2 separate regions of the Homo sapiens genome follow, and region 2 is linked to region 1. Evidence: promoter capture Hi-C in 16 types of primary human blood cells and fetal thymus (Javierre and others, 2016). All regions are on one chromosome and are shown on one strand. The core of a region is centred on a gene start or on the middle of the fragment in contact, and the rest is flanking DNA. Distances in the headings are between cores, read along the strand shown. Region 1 holds the start of FAM110D (family with sequence similarity 110 member D). Region 2 overlaps LIN28A (lin-28 RNA binding posttranscriptional regulator A).

Region 1 (4,164 bases), core at 1,200-3,699:
GGCAGCCGCCTGCCGCTTCCCCGGCGGACCGGCCTGGGCGTCCTGGGCGATGCAGGGGGCCCCAGCTCGTTGCAGGGGTGCGGCGTGAGCGGCCCAGGACTCCCACGCAGGGCTGGCTCCTGTCGCCTAGCTATCACCTGGTGCGTCTTGACATACTTGGCTTTGTCGGCTTCCAGCCTCTCCACGGCGCTGGGGGTCCGTCCTCTGGACGGGGTGGAGGGAGGGGCCAGGAGCATCTTAGCAGAGCTGGTCAGGACAGTGCCCCATAAGTAGCCAGCCACGGGGCCTAGAGCAATTGGCTTGGGCTCTCACTGACCTGCAGGGAGAGAGGAAGGTCAGGGGAAGGGTAGGAAATGCCCCTGGTCCTCTCCTGCCGGCATTCCTCAGTATAGGATCAGTCAGCCACCCTCTCCCATCCAGGTTAGCCGGTGCCACATCCAGGGAGCAGAGGCTCAGGCCATCCCCTTTCCCTGTCCTTCAGAGACATTGAGTGGGGTCTCTCTGGCCACTCAGAAACATATTCCCCTTTGAAGGTGCCCCAATCTGGCCACAGGGTCGTGCAAGCAGGCCTTAGCAAGCAGGACACTTGGAAAAGGAAACAGGGCTGGTCCCGGCCCAATTCCTGAAAGTGGCTTCAACCGGAAAAAATACCTCTTCCCAACCCAGCAGCTTTGAGCCCAAGACAAGAAGGCTCCCAGCCACAGGCTGGCTCCAGCAGGGCCCACCCTTCCCGCCCCCAAACACCGAGGTCGGGGATATAACCACAGGGTAGGAGCCTCCAGTAATTGCAGCCAACTGCCCTGCCCAGGCCCAGCAGGGCCATCGGGGCAGGAGAGGGAGGTGGTCCCCAGGCCCTATCAGCTACTGCCAGCTACTCTGCCCCTGCCAAGGGGATCGCAGAATGCCAAACTGTAAACATCACCTTGTTTAACCTTTGCATTTCCATTTCATGAAGAGGAAACTGGCTTGGAGAGGAGGGGGGCTTGCTCAGGTCCTATTGAGAGTTAGGAGCCAGGACTGGAACCCAGGTTTCTTTTTTTTTTTTCTTTAGACGGAGTCTTGCTTTGTCACCCAGGTTTCTTGCCTTGCAGTTCAGATTGGATCTCTCACTTGCCTATCAGAACTTCCCACTGAGGCCAGGCGCGATGGCTCATGCCTGTAATCCCAGCACTTTGGGAGGCCGAGGTGGGTGAATTACCTTAGGTGAGGAGTTCCAGACCAGCCTGGCCAACATGGCAAAACCCCATCTCTACTGAAAATACAAAAATTAGCCAGGCGGGGTGGCGCACACCTGTAATCCCAGCTACTTGGGAAGCTGAGGCAGGAGAATCGCTTGAAGCTGGGAGGCGGAGGTTGCAGTGAGCCGAGATCGCGCACCACTGCACTCCAGCCTGGGCAACAGAGCGAGACTCCGTCTCAAAAAAAAAAAAAGAAAAAAAAAAAGAACTCACTGATATTTTGCGTGTATTCCCGCTGCTATAAAACCAAGCAATTTCCGTTAGAAATGGGCCCCTTGCCTCACTAAAAAGTTCCTTCCACTAATTCTTCCTAATAACCTGCGCTCCCACTCCCAGAAATTTGCCCCCAGGGTCCTTGTCCCTTTTTTATCCTAAGACCTCATGACCCTTTTCCACCTCCCTTCTGCTGGGGCAAGGAGCGAGGAGGGGTTGTAAATCAAGAGCTGACAGTTCTCTTGGCAGTAACAGAATGGGCCACCCACATGGCCCTGCACACCCGACCCCACCCCTATCTTCCCCTACTCCCCCTGAGTCCTGGAGGCTGAGGGACCTTGGATCTGGGGACAACAAAGGAACAGAATTAGCCAGGGAAGTGGGGAAGGAGTCTGTGAGAGGCCTTGGGGCAGAGACCCTGCCAGGTCCAGCCCACCCCTGCACCCAGCATCTAGTGTGTAGTCAGTCTGCTCATAGGTAGTTGAGGCCTGGGAACCAAGGAGAGTCTGGCAGTGTCCCCCTCCCTGTCTCCCAGGGAGTCTCCTTGGCAGTGGGTCAGATTCCAAGGTCCCAGGAAGGCACTGCTTGTCTGACCCCATGGGTGCCCTCTGTCCTCTCCTCTTCTCCCCAGCCCTGAGCAGGGAGACTATAAAAAGTTCCTAATCACAAGGACCAAAATAGTCTGTCATCCACAGCCTCTTCCCTGCCTTCTGGGCTAGCCTGGAGGCCGGACCTCAGACATCCCGCCCTAGAAGCCTGGCAGGCAGCCTCGGGCCCTCCATTCCTTTGCCTGCCTTCTCCCAGTCCTGAAACTTGTGGTCTCAACTCTGCCCAAGGCTTCTGCTCTGGGCATGGGCCATCTTTTAGGCTCACTAGTTTGGCACCAGTCTCCCTGCCCTCAGGCCCCTGGGTTCCTTCTTACCCCAGCCCTGGGCTCAGGGTACACTCACCTCTGCATGGGAGGCCTAATTGCAGGGGTCCTTGGGCAGGTCCAGACTGAGGGCAGGAGTGGACAGCAAGGACTAGAAGTAACTTTGGTGGCAGCCAAACCTCACTCTCCACAGGAAAAGCAGAGAAAGCCTCCACCCCCCGCCCCCCAAATTAACCCTCGCCTTCCTGAGGCAGATCCTGGCCTCCATTAACTCTTTCCTGATCACAGTCCTGCGCTGTGGAGACCTGTGAACCAAGTCCAGCTCCTTTTATTTTACAGATGGTCAAACAGTCCCAGCCCGGTTAGGTGATTGGCTGTGGAAGCACTGTGAGCTTGGGCAGAGCCAGGACTCCAAACAAGGCCTCCTGATCCCCAGGCTTCCTCCAAAGGCCTGGGGTGGGGGCTCCGTATGTGGGATCAGCCCCCTCCCTGGGCTGTGGCAGATGCTCTGACAGTCTGAATGGGAAGGCAGAACAGGGTTCTAGTCAACTTGCTTTTTTCCCTCTGTAGCAGGCTGAGACCTGTCTTGGTCTGGGTGCTGGGTGGTGTCAAGCCTGCTTTCCCTGGGGGCGAGACCAGGAATCTGCAGCCTAAGGGTGGGGGCATTGGTGCTATAGATGTGCAGGTGAGCCTGTGGCGGCAAGTCTTGTCATGAAGGTGACCCTGGAGCCCACTGGAGCTGCCTCTGCCAAGGTCCTTTCATGGCAGATGGGATTGCCTGGGAAGACAGTGATGAGGGGCTGATTCCAGGGCCAAGCCCAGGTCCTTTGGCCCGCTTCCTTCTCTGCCCACACTTGGAGCCTCTTAGAGCTTCTTCCATCAGAGTTTCTTCTCTGACACCTTATGTCTCAAGGTGAAACCCTACCTCATAGGAGACACCTCCCCTCTCCCCAGCAGGCAAACTAAACTCTCCAGCCCAGACTAAGACCAGTGCTCAGGCCAAAGGTTCCTTTCCCCCCTTGGCTGGCCACCTTCCCCAAGTCCCTCCTCCTCCTTTCTAGCCCTCTTTCATGTTTGCAAAGCACATTCCCGTCTGTGCTCTCTGATCTCCTTTGACCGCCCCCAAACAAGGACCCTAGACAGGCGTCCAGCAGGAATGACCCCCCACTTAATGAGTAAGGAAACAGGAGCTGAGGGGGGAGAGAGATGCCCAAAGCCCAGCTCCAAATCCACATTTGGAACTGCATCCTCTGCCTGTCAAGTCAGTAGTGGGTCTGAAAACCCAAGGCCCATCTCCCGGTAAAAGGTTTTTATTACCTAAAGGGGGGATTTTGTTGGTGATAGTTCCATATTTTGTTGCTACAGCACTTTTCAAAATGCCATTAGCTGCTTTGTCATAATCCCCATGACAATCTTTGGGGGAGGTTTTATTATTTTTCACACTTACGGCTGAAGAGACTGAGGCTCAGAGAGGAGAAATGACTTATCCAAGCTCACCAAACTCTGTCACCCAGGCTGGAGTGCCGTGACGTGATCTTGGCTCACTGCAACCTCCGCCTCCTGGGTTCAAGCGATTATCCTGCCTCAGCCTCCCGAGTAGCTGGGATAACAGGCAAGTGCCTGGCTAATTTTGTGTTTTTAGTAGAGACAGGGTTTTACCATGTTGCTCAGGCTGATCTTGAACTTCTGACCTTGCGATCTGCCGGCCTCGGCCTCCCAAAGTGCTGGGATTACAGGTGTGAGCCACCTCTCCCGGCCAATAGCTAACTTTTATTGAGAGATTAATATATGTTAGGGGCTATTCTAAGTACCTCACATAAGGATTAACATATTTAATCCTCA
Region 2 (4,164 bases), core at 692-3,191, 260 kb before region 1:
AAGCGCCTGAAATTCTTGTACCACCCCCATTCCACCCCCAACCACACACAAAGCAGGGCCCCGCCCCCTTCCCCATCCCCTCCAAAAAGAAAAGACCTTAGGGGGAGGGGCATGGCCTGAGCTCCCCCAGTAGAGCCCAGCCCCAGGAAACAAAGAGTTGACACTGGCTGGTTCTGGTGGTCAGATTCCTGGAGTTCCAAGGAGCAGATCCCTCTTGCATCTCCCTCTCCCTCCTCCCCACATTCAACTGTTTCTTCCTTCCTCTCTATGTTGGGGTTATGGTCACGGGAGAGAACTAGATATAGAAAATTCTTCCTTCCCCAGGCAGTCTTGCCAAAGTCACCATCAGCAGCCATCTCCCTTCTCTGGCTTGCGCACTGCCCACTTCATGGATAGAACCAAACAGGACCCCCTCCCCTTGGGTCTCTTCAGTCCAATCCTGAATTATTGATTCAGATAAATTATTTTAAAGGGGAGGGGGAGAGAAGGCATGACCCATATCATCCTTTCCCAATTTCTTCAAGTTAGGACTGTGGGGAGCCTACATGGGCCTACTGTGTTGGGGAATGTGGCATCAGACAACAGACAGCATTTCTTTTTCTTTTTTTTTTTTTTAAAAAGTCTGGCTCTGTTGCCCAGGCCGGAGTGCAGTGGCACAATCTCGGCTCACTGCAAGCTCCGCCTCCCGGGTTCACGCCATTCTCCTGCCTCAGCCTGCCGAGTAGCTGGGACTACAGGCTCCTGCCACCATTCCTGGCTAATTTTTTGTATTTTTAGTAGAGACGGGGTTTCACCGCGTTAGCCAGGATGGTCTCGATCTCCTGACCTCATGATCTACCCGCCTCGGCCTCCCAAAGTGCTGGGATTACAGGCGTGAGCCACCGCGCCCACCCCAAGCATTTCTTTTTCTTTTTTTGATAACAGGGAAGGAATCTCTCCAGTTAAAGTACTTAGGCCTTCTGATCCCTTCTTAATACCTCAGTAATTGCCTGCCTTACCCTATCCAACCCACACCAAGTACCTCATCCCAGCTTCAATTTATGCCTTTGCAAGCTTAGAGATAGAATGAGCCTTAGGGGTCACTTAGGAAATGTGGAGTTAAAAACAAAAGAAAACATTATAAAAGAAAAAAGTATGAAGAGAAAAAAAAAAAACAACACAAAGGAACCTAAGTGTCCTTTCTCCAGAAGTGGCAACAGAATTTCAGGGTACTTGCTACAGTTGTGCAGATTAAAGCTGGGGTTCTTGGCTCTTCCGCAAGAGGCTATTCCAGATCTTCTTCCAGGGCCATTCCAGCCGGAAGATTCTGTAGTGCAGGTCTCTACCTCAATTCTAGGTTCTTAGCTTGCACAAGCATTTGTTGAATGTCTAAGTACTATGCAAAATAACTGTTACTAATTGATTCTTACTGTAGGCTAAGTGGCATTCTAACCACTTTACGTGTTGTAACTCATTTAACCCTCATATCAAACTGGTGCAGTGGGGTGATATGAAGACCCTCATTTTACAGCTTGAGGACATGGAGGCAGAGGGGTTAATAAGCACCTTGGTTAAAGTCGCAATAAGAGGCAAGAGCTGAGCTGAGTGCAGCTGGCCTAACTCTCCCCAGTGCAATTCATTATGATGCAAGTCACATATATAATTGAAAACTTTCTAGTAGCTACGTTTAAAAAAGCAGCTGATGAAAGTAATTTTAATGATTCAGTCCTGTGGTGTCACATCCCTAACTTAGCTTCATTCCTGGAGGTAAGATTTGGTAAGGGAGAACCAACCGGTTCTCCCAGAAGCAGTTATTCGATGGTGTGTGTGTCAAGGAGGGTGTGTGTCAAGGAGGTTGGTGAAAGGGGTGTCTGGAACAGAAGGCTGCAGGCAGCCAATCCCTCTGATCCCCTCTGCTCAGCCACAGCCAGGCCCTGTAGCTCCTGCCTGGAGTTCTCCACCAGATGGCGCTGCTCAGCCTGTCTGCCCAAAGGTAAGCCCGAGGGCGCCTATACCAGGAGGTACTGAGTGGCCCGCTACCTGGTCTGAGCTGTGAACTCAAGTGTTCGGGTAGATTTATCTCCACAGCTCCTTAGGGCAGTCATCTTGTCCTCCCCGTCCCACCCTGCCCCCACCCAACCACCGGCTTGATCAGGGATAAGAATGAAAGGTTCCTAGACTTTTAGGCCAGAAACTCAGTTCTTATATTCTACTGCTTAGAAAAGCCAAGTCCTGTCTAAATTAAATAACACCACGCTGGGCCAGTCATGGTGGCTCATGCCTGTAAATCCAGCACTTTGGGAGGCCGAGGCAGGCGGATCACCACGAGGTCAGGAGTTCGAGACCAGCCTGGCTAACATGGTGAAACCCCATCTCTACTAAAAATACAAAACATTAGCCGGGCATGGTGGCAGGTGCCTCTAATCCCAGCTACTCGGGTGGCTGAGGCAGGAAAATCGCTCAAACCTGGGAGGTGGAGGTTGCAGTGAGCTAAGACGGCGCCACTGCACTCCAGCCTGGGCAACAGAGAGAGATTCCGTCTCAAAAAAAATAAAAAACCTCGATGGTGAGATCATGTTAAATAAGTCTGTATCAACTGTGTATTCTCCCCCAACTCCTTTGACCTCCCACTCTGACTATGTGGCCAGTGGTTGCTATTCATGCCTGCAGGAAGACAGGAGGCATAGTTTTACCTAGGGCAGTTACTCCAAAAAACAAGAATTCCAGTAGAGTGTGATTAGCAATGTTCAAAAAACTAAATGGCCCTGGTGAATGTTACTGAAAACCACTTGTAAGGCAGGCAGCAGTGTCAACAACCAGAGGGTAGAAACATCCCATATTTGAAGCTTTGTTCAGGATGGTGTCACAGCCTTTACTTTACACTGTCGCCGGGCATCATGGCTCATGCCTGTAATCCCAGCACTTTGGGAGTCCCAGGCAGGTGGATCACTTGAGGTCAGGAGTTTGAGACCAGCCTGGACAACATGACGAAAACCCTTCTCTACTAAAAATACTAAAATTAGCTGGGTGTGGTGGTGTACATCTGTAATCCCAGCTACTTGGGAGGCTGAGGCAGGAGAATTGCTTGAACCCAAAAGTCAGAAGTTGCAGTGAGCCGAGTTCGTGCCACTGCACTCCAGCCTGGGCGACAGAGCAAGACTCTATCTCAAAAAATAAAAATAAAAATAAAAAAAAGACATTGTCTAGAAGCATGTCTCAGAAAGAAGAGGACCCCAGAAGATTCCACAATGTCTTCATGAACCTTCCTACCTCTCTACCAACTTTCTGAAAAATCGAGTCAATTTATTTTTAAGCTGCCTTTTCTTATTAAGACAGAAATAACTCATGGATGACCACTAAATCCGTGGCTTCCACTCTGTCAACAAAAACGAGAGGAACCTCTCTGGGCTCCGAGTGGTGATCTACCCATATTCACTCCACAAACTTTCATAGTGCTATGTTGTGCCCAGGCCATATTCTATGTTGTGCCCAGCCCAGAAAGCGAGCAGCTACAATTGACACCCCTCAGTATCTCTAGTCTTTTTCTCTGAACAAAGATCTCTGCCAACATGGACCCCAGACTGCTAAGTGTACTTCTGATTCACCAAGGTCCTCAAGATGCCCCTTTTCTTATTCATTCCTCAGCCCACCAAATGCATACTAGAAAATTAACCAGGCAGCTAAGTTCCTCCCTTCAAAGAGCTTATGGGTTACATAGAGAAGGGTATAAGACCAGTACCTCAATAACTAGACATGAGGTGAGTAATCAGAGGTGCAGTGTTACAAACCAGGAGGAAAGATTCCGTATATTTCCCCACCCGCCCCCGCAACCCTAACACCAAACCCAGCAGTCCTAACCTAGACCCTGAATAAAGTTGCTCTTACCACCTCCTCACTCATGGCTTTTAGAAAAAGAAGGCCACCTGGCTACAGGGCAATTTCAGCAGTTGTCTAGGTATTGAAAACCTTTTCTCCTAACCCAACTTGGTCCCTTGGTCAAATCTGGGCTTTTGACTCCAAGTCTTCTAATATAGCATTTTAGCCAGAAAGCCAATTTAAACATATTTGAGATTGAAACATATCTGGGTCCTGAGGAGCTATGGGAAAGCAGGGAACTTTTCTTATTTCCAAATTTCTATAAATCTTGAGAGTTTGCAAATTGAGCCACAGGAAACATGAGTTAAG

Evidence for each region. Contacts are between HindIII fragments. The CHiCAGO score rates a contact against its expected background, and 5 or more counts as called.
Region 2: a fragment that was not itself captured here is called in contact with the fragment with the promoter of FAM110D in region 1 in 12 of 17 cell types (M2 macrophages, M0 macrophages, M1 macrophages and 9 more); the score reaches 15.0 in M2 macrophages.

What each region holds. Positions count from the first base shown.
Region 1 is chr1:26,157,364-26,161,527 of GRCh38, reverse strand. FAM110D (family with sequence similarity 110 member D) reads right to left here and starts at 2,449. Exons shown (of 2, transcript NM_024869.3): 1 at 2,402-2,449; 2 at 1-316. The coding sequence starts at 236. The HindIII fragment of the contact is 9,541 bases long and covers 1-4,164 here.
Region 2 is chr1:26,414,994-26,419,157 of GRCh38, reverse strand. The region is part of intron 2 of LIN28A (lin-28 RNA binding posttranscriptional regulator A); the gene reads right to left. Among named protein-coding and RNA genes, the nearest start is that of LIN28A, 6.3 kb to the right of the region's middle. RefSeq lists an enhancer at 47-618. The HindIII fragment of the contact is 1,772 bases long and covers 1,056-2,827 here.